2 separate regions of the Homo sapiens genome follow, and region 2 is linked to region 1. Evidence: promoter capture Hi-C in 16 types of primary human blood cells and fetal thymus (Javierre and others, 2016). All regions are on one chromosome and are shown on one strand. Each heading gives the region's core, a stretch centred on a gene start or on the middle of the fragment in contact. The rest is flanking DNA. Distances are from core to core; before and after follow the strand shown. Region 1 holds the start of RIPPLY3 (ripply transcriptional repressor 3). Region 2 has its middle 110 kb from the start of CLDN14.

Region 1 (3,733 bases), core at 567-3,066:
CCAAAGTGCTGAGATTACAGGCCCGAGCCACCGCGCCCAGCCTACGATTATGCTTTTATAGTGGGTATGCTTTTTTAGGAAGGAGAAGCCACCAGGAGCCCAATCTATAATGCGAGTCAGGTCTGATTAACACCTTACTCATTCAGGTTCCAACTCCCAGACCCCGAGGCGCTCCTGGGTTAGACGCCCAAGGGACGGCCCTGCGCAGAAGGCCATTCACGGTCCCTGTATTTTAAAAGACGATGCCACTTTCTGGCTGGAAGGGTTACCTACAACGCCCGCACTGAACCTTACCGGCCTTCCAGTTCTGGTCAGCTCAGCATCTCCAGGTGTCTGGATCCAAGGTCGCCACGGCGCGGGGCTGGAACGGCAAGCGCCAGGAGAGAGTGAACCCTGGGCACTTCTGCTGCCTTCAAACTATGCCATGAGAGCTATTCTTAGTTCCAGTGTCTGCCTGAAAAAGAGGCACCGGACCCCCCAGGAACTTTCCCTGGAGTTCTCAGGGCTGTGGATAAATTACTGTCATTTGTGTTTTTTCTCTCCTGCTACGTCCCCAGTTCTCTGTCTCCAGTTAAGCTTTGAGAAGGGAGGTCCCGAATCTCACACAATTATCAGGGAACCCATTAGTTGAGAGATTTCTCTCCCTGCAAATCCTGGCTGAATTGTTCAATTCGGGGTTCCCCAACTATAGCTGTCTACTTTGTCCCCGGTTAATTTCAATCACACCACCTTGGTCACGGAAGGAGATTGATTCTACAGAGATGATTTTACAGAGTTGTAGGATGAAAAACAAACAAACAAAAAAAGGGGGCTGGGCGCGGTGGCTCACACCTGTAATCCCAGCACTTTGGGAGGCTGAGGTTACTGGATCACTCGAGGTCAGGAGTTCGAGACCAGCCTGGCCAACATGGCGAAACCCAGTCTCTACTAAAAATACAAAAATTAGCCGGGCGTGGTGGCAGGCGCGTGTAATCCCTGCTACTCAGGAGGCTGAGGCAGGAAAATCGCTTGAACCCGGGAGGCGGAGGTTCCCGTGAGCCGAGATCACGCCATTGCACTCCAGCCTGGGCGACACAGTGAGACCCTGTCTCAAAAAAAAAAAAAAAAAAAAAAAAAAGAGGGAATCTTTCTCCTGCCTGGCTACCTGGCCCATCCGGCCTACCCGGTCCCTTCCCTACCTCCCTGGCTAATTTGATTTCCTACAACGTTACTGTCTTTAAAAGGGTTGGTGCCCAGGGACAGCGAACGCCGAGCCCCCAATCCAGGGACAACAGAAACGGCTACCGAGAAAGTAGCAAGGTGAGAGATTGCCTTTGCAAGGCTGGCTTAGGAGCCCGAGACTGCAGTGTCCCCGGCTGGCTAACTGAGATCTCCTCTACACGGAAGCGTCGGCCCCTTTCCTGGCCAGCTACATCCTGGGCCTCCGCACTTCAGAGCTGTGCGTTGGAACCGGAGAACTGAGCGCCCCTCCCGGGAACCCGGCTGCCGGCTCAGGAGCTTGCTTGGCGTCGCCGTCGAGCTCCGGAGCTCCGCTGGGGATCGGGGGTTCAGCAGCGCCCCAGCCTCCCGCTCGCTGCGCTCCCCGCACCGCCACCGCGCACGCCTCTCAGCGCGTCCACCGGGGCGCGGGGCCACCCTCACCTCTCCGGCCCGCGCGGTGGCGGAGGCCTCCAGGGAGCGTCCCCGGGGCAGTGACAGCCGCGCCCCCGCGCCTTCCGGGCTCCGGCCGCCGCTTCGGGCTCCATGGTGCCGGCGGAGCCCGCGCCCCTTGCTGCGGCGCCGGCCTACGAGCGCGCCTAGATCCACTCGGGCTAACGCGCTCACCTACCCGCGCGCCAGGTTTAAAAACGGGGGCGGGGCGGCGCGGGCAAGCGCTGGGAGGGGGCAGGACCCGAGGAGCTCCGTGAGGGGTGCGGAGGGGGCCGCAGGGTACGAAGGAAAAGCCCGGGTCGGAGGAGCGGAGGGGACCAGAGAAGTTCCGGGAGGGGACCAGGGAGCCGGGGATGGGGAGGAGACGAGAAAAGCTCAAGGAGGTGGCGCCGGGTGTCAAGGAGGGGGGTCCGGCAGGCCCGGGCAAGGGTGGGGACGGGACAAAGAAAAGTCGGGGAGGGGGCACCAGAGAAGGGGTGACCAGAGGATGGAGGTACCAGGGATTGGGGCCACGAGCTCGGGCTGGAGACAGCGGGAAGTGACCCAGGAACCCGGGAGAGGAAAGCGAGGCCCGCGGGCTAGGGGCGTTTCCGTCGGGCGCACTCCCTCGGGGACTGGGGGGACCTGCGCTCACCTGCTGGGCTTCCCCTGCCGGATGTGGGATGTGAGGAGTCCCGGCTTCTCCGTCCCTCTGTGGTCCCCGCGGCCTCGGGCTTTGGTCCTGTGCGAGCATCGGATTCCCTGGGTTTCCGGAGAATCTCGCTTCCACCGCCTTAGAGCGGCAGCGGGTCTTCGGGGACATCTACCGAATCCTCGGGTCCGCGTGCACCGGCCTTGCCTTCGGTGCTGGACAGTGGGCTCCCGGACGCCCCGACGCCAGGGCTCGAACCCGTGGCGAAGCGGGTGGGGTGGGGCGCGGCGACCCTTCCAGGAGACAGAAGGCCAGGAATGGAACCGAGCAAGAGGGGTGCTACGAGCGCACCCTTCCCACCGATGGCGGCCTTGGAAAGAATGCGAATTTTTAATAAAGCCTGGAGCGGCGGGCTTCTCCTTCGGTTAGCCCCAGCCAGGCTTAGAAAGGGCCTCCCGACCAGCAGAAGCGACCTTGCCCGACCCTGGGGACACTTCCCCGGGCGTCGCTGGAGCGCCGCTGCCACCATCACCAGCGCACGGCCAGGGTGGGAGAAAGCGGTTTCACACGTAGAGCACTGCGACAGAACACCGAAGGCGCTGGAGGGCCTTCAACTACCCCGGGCTCCTCAGGGGTAGTTACTTTATATAATTTAAGTTACTGTGATGGATGTTAAAAAATCGAAGAACTAGGCCAGGCGCGGTGGTTCTCACCTGTAATCCCAGCACTTTGGGAGACCGAGGCAGGTGGATGGATCACTTGAAGTCAGGAGTTCGAGATCAGTCTGGCCAATATGGTGAAACCCGTCTCTACTAAAAATAAAAAAATTAGCCGGGCGTGGTGGCAGGCTCCTGTAATCCCAGCTACTTGGGAGGCTGAGGCAGGAGAATGGCTTGAATCTGGGAGGCGGAGGTTGCAGTGAGCCGAGAGTGTGCCACTGCACTCCAGCGTGGGAGACAGAGAGAGATTCCCTTTCCAAAAAAAAAAAAAAAAATCGAAGAACTTCCGCAAGGCGCGGTGGTTCATGCCTGTAATCCCAGCACTTTGGGAGGCCCAGGCGGGTGGATCACTTGAGGTCGGGAGTTTGAGACCAGCCTGGCCAACATGATGAAACCCCGTATCCACTAAGAAAAATACAAAAAAATAGCCGGGTGTGGTGGCGGGTGCCTGTAATCCCAGCTACTTGGGAGGCTGAGGCAGGAGAATCGCTTGAACTCGGGAGGCAGAAGTTGCAGTGAGCCGAGATCGCGCCAGTGCACTCTAGCCTGGGCAACAAGAGCCAGACTCTGTCTCAAAAAAAAAAAAAAAAAAAAAATCGAAGAACTTCAGACATTAAAGTGTTTTCACATTTTTTTAATTAAGATTTTGAGCAACAATAATTAAATCTAAATAAAGGCAAACATTTAAGAGGGGGGAATTAATGGGAGGAGGCTAGAAGGAGGCAAAGAACAT
Region 2 (3,733 bases), core at 768-3,267, 420 kb after region 1:
ATTAAGCTTGTTGAAGAAGATTTAGAAGAAATATGGAAGAGTAAATCACCATAATCTTGCTACCTAGAACAACTTTTCTGAAAAATGGAAACAAGCTCTCACTATGTTATCCAGGCTGGACTCAAAATCCTGGGCTTAAGCAATCCTCCTGCCTCAGCCTCCTGAGTAGCTGGGACTACAGGAACATGCCACTGCAACTGGCTAGAATAACTTTATTTTTAATTAAGAATAAGTTAAAATAACCACTAACTAAACATTGCCAGTTCAGTTGACCCTCTCTTAGTATATAGATCAGAATGGTTTGTTATTAATATATACATGGTTTATATACAAACAGAGAGAAAGCTGGTCTCTAAAGTTTCTTGAGGACGTTGATGTCTCCTTTCTAGTTTGGCTTACCTATGAATTTCCTTGTTAAACCCTTTTTAAAAATAAATGATATTATGGTAAACTTTATTTTGGTTATTGTTAAGGTAATGCAAAAGTAAGCTGAATGCAATGCACCTATGTCCCAGTTATTCGGGAGGCTGAGGCAGGAGGATCGCCGGAGGCCAGGAGTTCAAGACCAGCCTGAGCAACACAGTAGGACTGCCCCCCCATCTCTCTTTTTTTTTTCCTTTTAAAGTAATGAGGCTTTGGTATATGGCCTATACTGCTAATATAGTTGCAATATTTCAAATAAGGTGCTTATAAGGTGCAGTATTTCCAGAAGAGATCCAAAGTTGCACATAATTGTTGGGGGGAAGGTCTAGGGGAAGAGAAAGAACCCAACTAATAGTCATTCTCCAGCTCGGTCATCTGTTAACCAACAGAGAGAACATTTAAACTTTTGAACTTCAGCTTCCCTTTCTGTAACATGGAAGGGTGGGACACAGCAGTGGTTCTCACCCAGGGAGTCCATTAGAATTGCACTGGAGAGCTTTTGAAAATATGCATGATGGCCAGGCATGGTGGCTCACGCCTGTAATCCCAGCACTTTGGGAAGCCGAGGCAGGTGGATCACCTGAGATCAGGAGTTCGAGACCAGCCTGGCCAACATGGTGAAACCCTGTCTCTACTAAAAATACAAAAAATTAGCGGGACATGGTGGCGCACCTGTCATCCCAGCTACTCGAGAGGCTAAGGCAGGAGAAACGATTGAACCCAGGAGGTGGAGGTTGCAGTGAGCCAAGATCACACCACTGCACTCCAGCCTGGGCAACAAGAGCGAAACTGCGAGAAAAAAAAGAAAAAGAAAGAGAGAGAAAGAGAGAGGGAGGGAGGAAGGAAGGAAGGAAGGAAGGAAGGAAGGAAGGAAGGAAGGAAGGAAGGAAGGAAAAGAAAATATGCACATGTGGTCGCCTCTGGGGCATTTTGTCCCAATGGGCCTCCCGCAATTGAGGTAGGGAAAGGAAGATCTTTGTTACTTTGAAAACGCTCCCCAGACCATGGTAGGTTGAAGGAGACTTGCCCCAGCTTGAGCCAATTGTAAAATTTGCCGGAATTTTGTGAGCTGGTAGCTAAAAGAGTCACTATTTAAAAATTTAAAATCATAAGCTTACAATTAAATAAATTATATTACCACAAAAGTAATAAATACTCAAAACTCATCACTTCCTAGTTGTTTTAATACATTCAACTTCCTAATTGTTTTAGCATTTTTTACTTCCTGATTGTGTTAGTACATTTTACTGGTACCTATGCTCTAGAAGTTGTTTGCACCTATTGTATCTGGAGGGTGGAAATACTATACAATGGTGTGGTGTTTCACATCTCTGCCAATGCTGGCAGCTTGAAATCAGCTACTGTGGGAGTATTTACACCACAGAAATGGGCAGATGCTAGGAATCAGGAGATTTTTCCCTTCTGGTGATCCAGTTTGTGGTTAAACATTCCTCAACATGTTACTGTCCCCGATGTGATGTAGGCTTAATTCAGAAGTGTGATCCTGGGCTCCTTTTAAATAACTTTGATCTGAAGATGAGGCTTCTATGCTTTCACTTGCTGAGATGCTAGCGCCTCCTGGTGTGACTGGTTTTGTGGCTGCAAAGTCTCTTTCTCCAGTTTCTTTTAAAGGAGAGCCATGTTTGCTCTGTTCTTCCTGGCACTGAAGTAGCAGGTGTGTTTGTGCAGGTCTTTAAGGTACCCTTAAAGTAAACAGCCTTGATAAAATCTTTTTTTCCTCTTTTCTTCATTCTTCTGTTACTTGTATTGATCCAGGTCTTTCTACAGGCACAGAGTATGCTGGCTGTGTTTGTACATTTTTGCAAATAGATAATCGTGGAAGTCTATTCTATAGAAACAGCCTTTATGACTATGAACTGTAACCAAGGGGGTGGCAAGCAACTTCCTCTCCTTTGAGATTTTGGTGTATGGAAGGTTTCCACTTAAACTCCTTTCTACAGCGTGGCCTTCTCTTTTGTTGCTGTATTTGGAATGCATACCAGCTGTCACAGGGCAATAATCCCGGAGATGAAATCAATTCTCTTAATGGCCTTTTATGGAAAGTTCAAGCTTGCCTTGGGTTGGTATATTTTTAGCTTCAGGTATATTTTTTGGCGTATTAAGGGAATAAGGCTCCCATGCATGGATTGTGTGTGAACTGTTGAGAAGTTAATTGGTGTTCAAAGTGAGCCCTGTGTGTTGCCAAGGTATTGGGGGTGTCTGGTAAATGGCACACTCTTCCTGCCCAAATTCTGAACCAAATGAAAGGTGAAAAAAGGCATGAGGCCAATGGAGTCGCAAAGACCGTTTTTGTTGTTGTTGTTGTTTTTGAGATGGAGTCTGGCTCTGTCGCCCAGGCTGGAGTGCAGTGGTGTGATCCTGGCTCACTGCAACCTCCGCCTCCCGAATTCAAGCAATTCTCCTGCCTCAGCCTCCTGAGTAGCTGGGATTACAAGTGCCCACCACCATACCTGGCTAATTTTTGTATTTTTAGTAGAAACGGGATTTCACCATGTTGGCCAGGCTGGTCTTGAACTCCTGACCTCAGGAGATCCATCCGCCTTGGCCTCCCAAAGTGCTGGGATTACAGATGTGAACCACTGTGCCTGGCCCAAAGACTGCCTTTATTCCAGCCCAAAGACTACGTTTATAACTGACAGTCTAGGTTGGAGAATGTGGCTTATATCTTTGGGCAAATAAGCTCCCTAATACAGAAGTCCAATTTTGGCGTGGGGGGTGGGTGGGGTGGGCGTGGGGGGTGGGTGGGGTGGGCGTGGGGGGTGGGTGGGGTGGGTGTGGCGGAACTGGACAGACCCCTACTCCACCCCACAGGGATGAGCCCATCCTTGGAGGAGCCCAGCCCTGGAAGTGCCAGTCACTCCTGAGAGTAAATCGAGATGCAGGACCTCTTACTGCCCATGACCCAGGTCTCCTTTCAAACCTACCAATCAGGATGCTAGACGTGCATGATGGGCAGAGCAAGCCAGGGGTTATGCTAATGAGCTCCCTCCCCTGGATGGGATCCTGTGGGTTTCCTTCTTCCCATGGGCACCCCCAACCTGGCCTGGCCAACAGACACTGCAAACAGGCGCCCTTACCTGCAGCAGCTCAGGAAAACTCCTCTATTTGAAAGCTGAGCTCTGTCTGTATTAGACTAAGTTTATGGAATGGAAAAGGGTAGATGGTCATTTCAGAGTGACTTTGGGGGGAAAAAACTCAGGATATTGTAATTAAAGTTGGTTATACCAAGAAAGTCAAAAGTTCTGGCCTTCATTACCCTTAAGTGATGACGCTTGTGTGAATTGCATCC

The links. The method cuts DNA at HindIII sites, captures the fragments that hold promoters and counts their contacts. A CHiCAGO score of 5 or more calls a contact.
Region 2: a fragment that was not itself captured here is called in contact with the fragment with the promoter of RIPPLY3 in region 1 in 1 of 17 cell types (naive CD4 T cells); the score reaches 6.5 in naive CD4 T cells.

The regions. Positions count from the first base shown.
Region 1 is chr21:37,004,785-37,008,517 of GRCh38, reverse strand. RIPPLY3 (ripply transcriptional repressor 3) reads right to left here and starts at 1,816. Exons shown (of 4, transcript NM_018962.3): 1 at 1,642-1,816; 2 at 295-361. The coding sequence starts at 1,745. RefSeq lists a silencer at 1,642-1,751 and an enhancer at 1,975-2,475. The HindIII fragment of the contact is 8,716 bases long and covers 579-3,733 here.
Region 2 is chr21:36,583,447-36,587,179 of GRCh38, reverse strand. No RefSeq gene overlaps it. Among named protein-coding and RNA genes, the nearest start is that of CLDN14, 110 kb to the right of the region's middle. The HindIII fragment of the contact is 957 bases long and covers 1,539-2,495 here.